Regions from separate parts of the Homo sapiens genome. Here regions 2, 3 and 4 are each linked to region 1. Evidence: promoter capture Hi-C in 16 types of primary human blood cells and fetal thymus (Javierre and others, 2016). All regions are on one chromosome and are shown on one strand. Each heading gives the region's core, a stretch centred on a gene start or on the middle of the fragment in contact. The rest is flanking DNA. Distances are from core to core; before and after follow the strand shown.

Evidence for each region. Contacts are between HindIII fragments. The CHiCAGO score rates a contact against its expected background, and 5 or more counts as called.
Region 2: a fragment that was not itself captured here is called in contact with the fragment with the promoter of HSF2 in region 1 in 1 of 17 cell types (naive CD8 T cells); the score reaches 6.5 in naive CD8 T cells.
Region 3: the fragment with the promoter of TSPYL1 here is called in contact with the fragment with the promoter of HSF2 in region 1 in 1 of 17 cell types (activated CD4 T cells); the score reaches 10.8 in activated CD4 T cells.
Region 4: a fragment that was not itself captured here is called in contact with the fragment with the promoter of HSF2 in region 1 in 2 of 17 cell types (non-activated CD4 T cells and total CD4 T cells); the score reaches 6.0 in non-activated CD4 T cells.

Annotation. Positions count from the first base shown.
Region 1 is chr6:122,398,332-122,401,031 of GRCh38, reverse strand. It overlaps HSF2 (heat shock transcription factor 2), which reads right to left and starts at 1,380. Exons shown (of 13, transcript NM_004506.4): 1 at 1,202-1,380. The coding sequence starts at 1,294. RefSeq lists silencers at 935-1,054, 1,325-1,644 and an enhancer at 585-1,084. The HindIII fragment of the contact is 3,471 bases long and covers 1-2,700 here.
Region 2 is chr6:116,563,185-116,565,884 of GRCh38, reverse strand. No RefSeq gene overlaps it. Among named protein-coding and RNA genes, the nearest start is that of RWDD1, 7.0 kb to the left of the region's middle. The HindIII fragment of the contact is 5,903 bases long and covers 1-2,700 here.
Region 3 is chr6:116,278,533-116,281,232 of GRCh38, reverse strand. It overlaps TSPYL1 (TSPY like 1), which reads left to right and starts at 1,303. Exons shown (of 1, transcript NM_003309.4): 1 at 1,303-2,700. The coding sequence starts at 1,403. It also overlaps a transcript of DSE not described here. RefSeq lists enhancers at 1,310-1,369, 1,600-1,869, 1,890-1,939. The HindIII fragment of the contact is 6,415 bases long and covers 1-2,700 here.
Region 4 is chr6:116,097,070-116,099,769 of GRCh38, reverse strand. It overlaps a transcript of FRK not described here. Among named protein-coding and RNA genes, the nearest start is that of NT5DC1, 2.4 kb to the left of the region's middle. The HindIII fragment of the contact is 1,907 bases long and covers 301-2,207 here.

The DNA of each region.
Region 1 (2,700 bases), core at 131-2,630:
CAGAAGTCAAAACTTCAGGGTCTTAATATGGTGCTCACTCCCTGTTAAGACAAAAGTAAATAAAACTAAGAGTTCCTATAATAGGAGAACAGGAAAGAAAGGAGGACGGGAGATAACATTTACTCAGCACTTAACAGGTGCCAGGCACTATGCAGGTAGTTTTCACTTATTCTTCTCAAGAACTACACATATGAAAATATGCCTCAATAGGTGATCATCTACAATAAGAGTTAACCACTTTCCTTCATAAAAATGATTCCAACAGCCTAGGAGTGTATTCTAATGCACATGCACTGTGGATGTAAATAATCATTCTGCCTAAAATCTTGTATTTGGGACTGATATAGGTCTTGGGTCACCTAGGCAACCCATCCATCTTATGAAAGATTTAACTTAGGCCAGACAAGATAAAGGGCTGGACTAAGGTCATGCTTGTTTAGAAGCAGAGTTGAGATCAAACCAATAATCAACACATCGATATGCCCCTCTGCTGGTAACTGTTCAGCGAAATTTAGTAACTACTAAGTTACCACCTATTAGTACTTTATTAAAACAATCCTAATAATCCCATTATACAAATAGCACAGAATCTCAAAAGAATAATTTGTTAATTTCTATATATTTTTAAAACCAACTGATAAGCAGTAACCTGCGTTTGAACGTATGTCTATTGCCCTGACTGCTCTCCACATAAAGATGCCAGATGCAAAGCAATGTTGGGGGAACTGGGGGTGATCGGTCGCTGAGGTAAAGATCGCCTCCTATAAAGCCCCACGTTGATGATCCTGGCCCTGGGCTCCCTGTCCCCTCCGCGATTTGTAACCCCTGAGCCGGGCGGGAGGACGGAGGATGAGTGTGCAGTAAAGAGGCTCCCGCGCCCTCGGCTCGCCGATTCCCCTCGCGACGCCGGGCCGGTTCCGAACGCGGACCGGACCGTTAAGGGGCTGCCTGGGCCGCTACGCCCCGCGCGGGCCGCCCCTCCCCCACCGCGGCCTGAGGAGAGCGGCGCTGCCGGCCGGGCCCCCGCGGCTCCCCGAGCGAACAATACAGGGGGTCCCCCGCGAGGCTGAACGCCAAGGCCCCGCACCGCGGGCCTCGCAGACAGCGTCGAGCCGCAAGGCCGCGAGAGACCACCCCGCAGGAGAGCGAGTGAGGAGGCGGTTATTCAGGGGGTTCAGAGGCCGCCGTGGCCTGACCGTACCTGGCTCCAGGTGATGAACTCGTTAGTGTGGGTTTCCTCCACAAGCGTCCACAGCTTGCTGAGGAAAGCCGGCACGTTCGAACTCTGCTTCATTGTTAACGCGGCGCAGGGATTCCAAATTCTACACCCGAACGCGGTGGTAGCGGCGGCGGCAGCTACGGCAGCAGCTCCCCGAGAACGCCCACAACGCAGGCGCAGCAGATCTTGGTCCCCGCCCCCCCAACCCCGCCAGGCGCGCGGCAAGGCCGAGAGGCCGGGCGGCCGCACGTGACGGACAAGTCTCCGCGCTCCGCCTGTGCGCGCAGTGGTTCCGCGCCTGTCCCGTCCCTGGCCAATCCCAGGAGCCGACTGCACGACAGAGAAAAGCGATTGGCTGCTGCTGACATGAAGGGGGTGGGAGCAGAAGGGGGTGGGAGCAGAAGGGGGCGCTGCCTCCTCATTTGCCTTTTATACAGAAGCCTTGATGGTAGCAGACTTAGGCTTGGGAGACCGTGTTTGGATGTTTCACGTGGAAACAGCTTATGGTTTCTGGGCTGTGGCTGGGAGGCTACAGAAACCCTTCAGGGCCTTTGAGTCATAAGTTTGGCAGGCAAAGTGTGGTTTGCACCAGTTTAGAGAAAGGATCCATTTGCATAAGGAAAAAACCAGCTCTCAAGCATGATGTGCTAGGCCCCAAATTGAAATTGTCTTAAAAATAATGAAACTTGTTCTTACATTTTCATTGGGAGAAAAAGCCCTCTTTAAAATATGTTTATCAAAAAGAGCAGTTTAAATAACTCACTCTCGATTACTTAAAACTGTAAACCAGGAACTGCAATTGATATATCATGTGCTGTTTTTAATCCAGTCATCAAGTGCCTACTCTGTACCCAGAATAAAAAGAAATAGACTCATTTGTACTATTTTAGTTAATTAAAATAGTTTTTCCTGCGTATACTTTACAGATATAGTCTTTTTTGCCTAAGAGATTGGTATAGTGGAAAAAACAATGGAAAAGGAGTCAGTAGATCTCAGTTTAGATAAAGCCTCTTGGACATTTTTCTGTATATTAAAATACACTGGTTCTGTCATTTAGAACAATTCCTTAGCCACCAGTGCCAGTTTTTTCCATTTCTTGACTGGGAATAAGATCTATCTTTTTACCCACTAAGAGTGTCTTTAATACTATAATGGCTGTGCAAATGCTTTGAAAATATGAAGTCTACAAAATTCGACTTTTTTTTTTTACAAAAGTCAGCATGTGAAGGCAAAAACTTACAAACAAGTCAGAGATAACATACAAAACTTCAACATAGGATTGGTTTACTTCTTGGGTGAATGTAAAATAGTACATTAAATATATATCTATCATTTAATGGAAGATATATGTATATCTCTTCCAATGAGCAAGTATTTAGTGAATGCTGCCTTTGTGCTCAGCACTGGGATGTTGGCTGAAGCAAAATCAGATATATGGAGGCATGCATGTGATAGAGGAAGTAATATTTGATGAGCCCTTA
Region 2 (2,700 bases), core at 183-2,682, 5.8 Mb after region 1:
CACTTTGGGTGTCCTCTTCGCTGGGCGCAGTTCGGTCACCCAATAAAGCTCTTCTCTGCCTTGCTTACCTTCCAGTTTTCTGCATAACCTCATTCTTTCTGGACGAAGGACAAGAACTCAGGACCTGCCGAACAGCGGGAGCAAAAGGAGCTGTAACACTTTTCTGGCCGGTTTGCTGAACTGCAGGCGGGAGCTAAAGGGGCTGTGACATGTTCCTGGCCTGCTTGCTGAGCTGTGGGCGGTGATATGCTCCCAGACTGCAGGAAGGAAGAGTGGCAACCCTTCTGGGGACCTAGATCTTGGGAGTCCCCAAGCCAGAGCTTTAACACTATAGTCCTCCCACCCTCTGCTAGTGCAGGGCGGCTGCCCCATATGACCGAAAGCAGCCGCAGGGCCAGGCCAGAGCGGGGTGTTGAGACTGAAAGACCTATACCACCAAGGGGCTGAAATACACTCCCTCAAACATGGCCCCCATCCCCGCTGCCCACACTGCAGATGACAAGAGGGAGAGAAGAGCTGTGGCCATTCTGGAAGCACAGACCTCGGGGCTCCCTGAGCCAGGGCTGTGACACATTGTAACACCCTCTTTGGAGCTCTGTGGTTCCTGGAATCTCTGAGTTTTTGGGTGCCACCGCGTTCCCCTCGTCCAGACACTCGTGTCTACAGTGGAAGCTGCTTGCGGTATGCCTGGTCCCGCCGCAGTCTCGCTCGGTGACGGTGCCAGGAGCTACCCGCCCCGCTGCGGCAGCTACCCACCCCGCTGCAGCAGCCGGCATGCTTGCTGTGTACAGTGGCCGGACCCCGTACTTGCTCGCTCACACACGCCTTGCCGCTCCGCGCCTGGTTCACTCTCCGCAGGCATAGGATCTGGGCCGGTAGCACAAGCGAGCACGGCCTGCTGGGCCAAGTGGGCTGAACGAGTCCAGCAGGAACAAGCAAAACTCAAGTAGAGGTACCACTGGCCACAGAGGTTTCCAGCTGGTAAAGCAGCACCTGAAGGAGCCTGTGACAATACATATACATTTCTTTTTGTTTAATCAGTTTGTCTGAAGATTCTCTATAGTGTCCAGGCACCATCTCTTTCTATTCAGGAAGAAGAGCCATCTCTTCATGTTCTTTATTGTCAAATGCACTACTGTCTAATTTCATATCTCTCACCATGATTTAGAAGAACAAAAAAAAAAAAAAAAAAAAAGCAGTGCTTCTACACACAATCCCGTGGCTCACTGTCATTTCTAGCAAAACAAAATCGTTCTTCTTGCCTCTGCAGTATCCCAATACCTTTTTTTGTAATGCTGGTCACATCATTACTCGTTAAGCTGCGTCATTCATCCTGCTGCTCCTGAATACTGGCTTCCAAAGTCTTTCTCAAAGAATGTTCTTTATTGATGACCACAAATGGAAATTTTACCCAAAGTATGCAGGAAAATGGGAATGGTTATTTTCCAGTCAGTTAAATTTACTACACATCTTCCAACTATGTCTTTTCTTGAATGCCTTAGGCCATAATCACTGCATTCCTAAAACGATGTCTCTTTTAATGTCGCTGCACCGCACCTTCTACACTTGGCCACCAAGTGGGAAGAAGGGAGAAGGTCCTAAGGGTGGTGCCAGATAAGCAGTTCCATTCCAGTGCAGGGAATGTCCTTGACCAGCCCAAGAGAGCACAGATTCACAACACTGATCTGAAGCCAGAAAGGGACAGCAATCTGTAAGGCCCCTCAAAAGCCATCAGAGAACTGGTAGTAGACACACCACCCCAGAGGACAGCCTGATCCGCGGCACACAGTGGAGACCACCCTGGGCCCAGTGCAGCGGCACACCAAGGAAAGGACCTGCTGCTGCCACCACCTCGCCGGCTCCAGGGCTGCAGGTGGGAGCTGGCACTTCCAGCTAGAACACCCCGGCATGCCATGCTGTGGGAAGAGGGTCGAAGAGTGTAGGGATGTGGGGAAGGGAAGAAACGGGTCCCCGCAGTCTGGTCTGGCTCAGGGCACCCCATGCCAATGAGCCCCAGACAATTTCCTAGAAGGAGCTCAAAACATCAGGCTCCCTGATGGCGCGCAGTACTGAATCGCATATTAAATTATTATTCTAGCTCTGCCAGTAATAACTTGGATGAATTTTGCTTTTTGCATTATCTTCCCCATGAAATATAAACCTGTCTCACAGGACAGCATAGGATCTATTAAATCATCATTGGACTAAAGATGCTTATTTTGTAGGCAGCTTTTCCAAATTCAAGTTATTTCAACATGAAAGAATGACGGCAGGCATAAACTTATCAATAATAGGTCACCTATTATCGACTTATGAAATTTGTGCAATCAATAAAACACCATGTAGATCCAGAGATTGATTGATTGTGCTTTCACATTTGCTTTCTCACATTTGAAATGCTAGCATATGTCTACATTATGAAATAATTTATAGTAAATAGTTCTGTTGATGCCACTAACTGACAACTACAGAAGAAAAATATATTTAAATGTTTATTTGCAGCTTAAGGTAAAACATCCACAAATGCCTATGAAGTTTATATTCAGCTCTTTCTGCACTTTAGCACACTGTAAAATATTAGAGCACATTGTATTTTATTCATAAAATATTATATTATAGATATATTTGTTTTCCAGGAGCAACAGTTTTGCCCAAGGCAGAGTGTCAGCACATATAGAATCAGGATGCTTGTGTTAGAAA
Region 3 (2,700 bases), core at 54-2,553, 6.1 Mb after region 1:
CCTGGCTCCTTCCTCCATCTTCAAAGCCAGCAACATAGCGATTTCCCTTTCCTCCCTCCCACACCTATTCTCCACCATTCCTTCCCTCTCTCTGTGCTTTCGTCCTCTTATCTTCTCTGACTGACCCTCCTGCCTCCTTCTTATAAGAAATTTGTAATTCCATAGGGCCCACCTGTATAATCCAGAATCATCTTCTCATCTCCAAATCTTTAACTTAATCATATCTGCGAAGTCCCTTTGGCCGCATAACTAAGACAGGTACATCTTTGAGGGCCATCAGGCTACTACCACACAAAGCAAATTAAGTAGAAAATAACGTTTGCCTCTTTTATACCTTGAGTCCACCAGCTGCATGTTGCCCTTTGCAAGTTTGTTTTCTACTTCAAGGCCATCTTAGTTGTCCATTTTAACTAGCCTTTCCTCACAAAATGGTGGTATGTGGCTCCCCCCACTGATATTTCTCTGAGGCCTTGTAGCTCTCTAAGACAGCACCAGTTTAACTCACAAGTCAACAAACTGGAACACTTCAACCAGAGACATTGACATCCCCCTCTAATGAACTCAGCTGATTGCTAAAGACAGATGCTTCGTTAGAGCCAAACATTCCTATCTTACATAACTAAATATGATAATAAATTAAGTTCTTGGGGCTGGAAATAGTTATAATTTCCTCTTTCTTGCAGTGAAAAGGCATGGAACATTTAGCAAACTGATCCTGGCTTAATTTCTACCGATACTATGCAGCACAAACTCTTATTTGATGCAGATTATAAATCGAAAATTAGCAATGAATACTATGCATCGCTTTAGTGGTAAGAGGCTGCTGAGTAGCTTTTTTTCCCCAGTAACCGTAGAGGCAAGAATTGATATTTTTATGTCACTTTTACTAAGAAGGGGGGAAACATTTTGCTATTAATCTTAAAGAGAAGTCTTTTGCTGCTAGTTACGTGGAGTAACAGGGAATAGATTTACCTTCCTGCCTCAAAAAAGTGAAGACCAGAAAAACATTTGTTTTCAGACACTGGAGAGCAGGCACTGTTACGGCTGTGATTTTACAACTGCTCCTACATGCTGGGAGCAGTCGCTAGATGCATCTCAAGGTGGGTCGTCCGCGCTTCCAGACTCAGCACAATCGACATTTATTTACGTAGGTAAAATTACTGTTGCTATGGGTAAATTCACAGAAATAAAGCCCAGAGAATCCGGTTGGCTGGCAGGGAGCGGCGGAACCAATCCCGGGCTCAGCAAGTTCTCGCGATACCGTGAGATCTCCAGTCCTGACGACACCGCCGCTGAAATGTTAGTGAGACTGTAGGGTGGGCGGTGCGAGCGGCGGTTAGCTCCCAGTTCGGCCTCTGAGGAAAACGGGCGTTCGCCTGCGGTTGGTCCGACTGTTAGCAACATGAGCGGCCTGGATGGGGTCAAGAGGACCACTCCCCTCCAAACCCACAGCATCATTATTTCTGACCAAGTCCCGAGCGACCAGGACGCACACCAGTACCTGAGGCTCCGCGACCAAAGCGAGGCGACACAGGTGATGGCGGAGCCGGGTGAGGGAGGCTCGGAGACCGTCGCGCTCCCGCCTCCACCGCCTTCAGAGGAGGGGGGCGTACCCCAGGATGCCGCGGGCCGTGGCGGTACTCCCCAGATCCGAGTTGTTGGGGGTCGCGGTCATGTGGCGATCAAAGCCGGGCAGGAAGAGGGCCAGCCTCCCGCCGAAGGCCTGGCAGCCGCTTCTGTGGTGATGGCAGCCGACCGCAGCCTGAAAAAGGGCGTTCAGGGTGGAGAGAAGGCCCTAGAAATCTGTGGCGCCCAGAGATCCGCGTCTGAGCTGACGGCGGGGGCGGAGGCTGAGGCGGAGGAGGTGAAGACAGGAAAGTGCGCCACCGTCTCAGCAGCCGTGGCTGAGAGGGAGAGCGCTGAGGTGGTGAAGGAAGGCCTGGCGGAGAAGGAGGTAATGGAGGAGCAGATGGAGGTAGAGGAGCAGCCGCCAGAAGGTGAAGAAATAGAAGTGGCGGAGGAGGATAGATTGGAGGAGGAGGCGAGGGAGGAAGAAGGGCCCTGGCCTTTGCATGAGGCTCTCCGCATGGACCCTCTGGAGGCCATCCAGCTGGAACTGGACACTGTGAATGCTCAGGCCGACAGGGCCTTCCAACAGCTGGAGCACAAGTTTGGGCGGATGCGTCGACACTACCTGGAGCGGAGGAACTACATCATTCAGAATATCCCGGGCTTCTGGATGACTGCTTTTCGAAACCACCCCCAGTTGTCCGCCATGATTAGGGGCCAAGATGCAGAGATGTTAAGGTACATAACCAATTTAGAGGTGAAGGAACTCAGACACCCTAGAACCGGTTGCAAGTTCAAGTTCTTCTTTAGAAGAAACCCCTACTTCAGAAACAAGCTGATTGTCAAGGAATATGAGGTAAGATCCTCCGGCCGAGTGGTGTCTCTTTCTACTCCAATTATATGGCGCAGGGGGCATGAACCCCAGTCCTTCATTCGCAGAAACCAAGACCTCATCTGCAGCTTCTTCACTTGGTTTTCAGACCACAGCCTTCCAGAGTCCGACAAAATTGCTGAGATTATTAAAGAGGATCTGTGGCCAAATCCACTGCAATACTACCTGTTGCGTGAAGGAGTCCGTAGAGCCCGACGTCGCCCGCTAAGGGAGCCTGTAGAGATCCCCAGGCCCTTTGG
Region 4 (2,700 bases), core at 5-2,504, 6.3 Mb after region 1:
ATTTAACCCTTTCAAATACTAATCCTTCTGAGGCTAATAGACCAATCAGAGGATTAATTTAGTGCAATAGATAGTACAATTGAGTAGGAGGACACTTATACCTAGTAGACCCATTTGAATAAAATTGATAACTTGTTCCATTATAACACTTAAAAGCCCCAAACAAATCTCTCTGGAATAGGAAAAGTAAAGAATCTTCAAGAAGATTAAGCTGTTCACTGATGAGTCCAACAATCATGTTTTCAATGTCTGTGAACCAAAAGAGAAAAGGCTGGATTGTTGGAGAGGCTGGAAAAAGCTTGTTGGCCCTGGAGCATTGACCTTGGCATTCTCCTCTGCACCTTGCAATAGAATGCTACCAAAGTCAAACTTCCAGGTGCATGCCACATTGAAGGGCACATGTTTCCTTGGGGAATATCTTGTTTCATGTGGGAGTAGGTGCTTTAGGTACTTTAGGGACTTCCCTTAGTAATACAAATGTACTAGTACATTCATTGTAAGAGGGAAGAGTATAAAAGGATTGTTTTTTGTTGACTTAGCAAAAACTTCTCCTTACAAAACCTCTTGAGTGTGCTGAATTGTGAACAGGAAATTGACTTGGGGTAAGGGGAGAGAGGGAACCAGGGCACTCTTAAAGAGAAAAAGACCCCTGGGTCGATAACCAAGTGGTCCTGGGACTGGATCTGGCTATTACATGCACATCAACAATCTTATGTACTTGCTGATTAACAAATTATATATATTCTGCATGTTTGCACAAACAGTTCTTGTGCTAGAGAGTCCACATCATTTAAACTTTGTGGGAGAATTTTGCAAATGATCCAATCCTAGAGGCTTGTACTCTTTCTTGAGCCCCACTCACCTTTCCTTTGTACCTCAAACCTCAGTCTGACTCTTCCAGAAATATAGGGGATGGTTCCCTTCTCTTCTCCCATTCCCTACATAACCCTGAGTTTAAATACAAACACTCAGTTTAATTGTTTCATAAGGCTTATTTTTGGATAAAGATATTTCATTTTCCCTGCACATTAAACTTTTATCACACTTACTGATAAAATGCCACAGCTCTTGTATTATCAACTACAAGTTCAGTCTTCTACTTAGATACCAATTAATTTCTGTTTCTTTGAGTATCATGGACTGAATTTTGTCCCCCACTCATTCATGTGTTGAAGACCTAACCCACAATGTGTTTATATTTGACATAGGGCCTTTAAGGAAGTAATTAATGTTAAATAAGGCCATAAGGGTGGAGCCCTAATCCAACAGGATTAGCATTCTTGTAAGAAGAGGAAGGGGCACCAGAGTTTTCAAGCACACAAGAAAGGCCATGTGAGGAGCCACAAAACCACGGCTGTCTGCCTGGCGTCGTGGCACACACCTGTAATCCCAGCACTTTGGGAGGCCAAAGTAGGCAGATCGCTTGAGGTAAGGAGTTCAAGACCAGCTTGGGCAACATAGCGAGACCCATCTCTAGAAAAAATACAAAAATTAGCAGGGTATGGTGGCAGGCACCTATAGTCCTAGCTGTTGTAGGGGCTGGGGTGGGAGGATCGCTTGAACCTGGGAGGCAGAGGTTGCAGTGGGCTGGAATCAGGCCATCGCACTCCAGCCTGGGTGACAGAGAGAGACCCTGTCTTTTAAAAAAAAAAAAAAAAAAAAAAAAAAAGCTGTCTGTAAGCCAAGGAGAGTGGCTTCACCAGAAACCAACCCTGACAGCGCCTTGATCTTGGACTTTGAGCCTCCAGAACTGTGAGAAAATAATTTTTTGTTGTCTAAACCCCATTGTGTGGTATTCTGTTAAGGCACGCTGAGCCAACTAAGGCAGTTAATAAGGATAATTGACTCAAATCAGTGTTGTGTTAAATGTAGGAAATATTTGCCATTTGAAAGGTCTGTAAAGGACATGAACTTGGGTTTATGTTATTTGTTGACTTCTTGAAGTTGGGTACTTTTGCTTATGTGTAACATTAATACCATGCTGTGAAGTTTTAGAGTTTTTTTGTTTTTAGTATTTCATGTACTGTTTTTTCTTATACTTATGAGTTATGTAATAATTTAGAAATATTCAGAAACAGGAAGTTATATTACAGCCGATTTTCTAGAATTAAATTTCATTATTACAATTGATCTGCTTTTAATTGAGGTGGTACTATAATTTAGCAATTTTAACCTTAGGTGTGACTTGTGATTAGCTAGCTTAAGCTTTAGACTCTATAATATCTCAATAACTGATCTTTTGTGAATTTATAATACTTTATTTTAACATCTATATTGTAAATATGATTTGCCATACATTTTTGGGAAGGAGGGAAATGGCCTGTTTCTTTTTTCATTAGTTTAAAATATGCTTTTCTAAATATTCCTAATTAAACATTGTATGTTCAACTTTTTGTATAACCTAAGCCAATCTACATATCTTCTGTGGCACATATAATTCTTTAAGGGGTAAGAAAAAAGTTCATTTACTAAATTGGAAAAAAATAGGAAAAATATGAATTTCTAAAAATAAAACTCTATGGCACTTAAATATTAGACATTTAGCTACATAGAACCAAATACTTATTTGTAATATTATGCTGAGGCCTTTAGATGGCAGTAGTCCTGCATGAGGAATATTTTTTATTTTTTTTTAGTAATCTTAAAATCTTTACATTTCTTAATAAAAAATACTTCATTTTCTACTCTCTTGATTTTCTA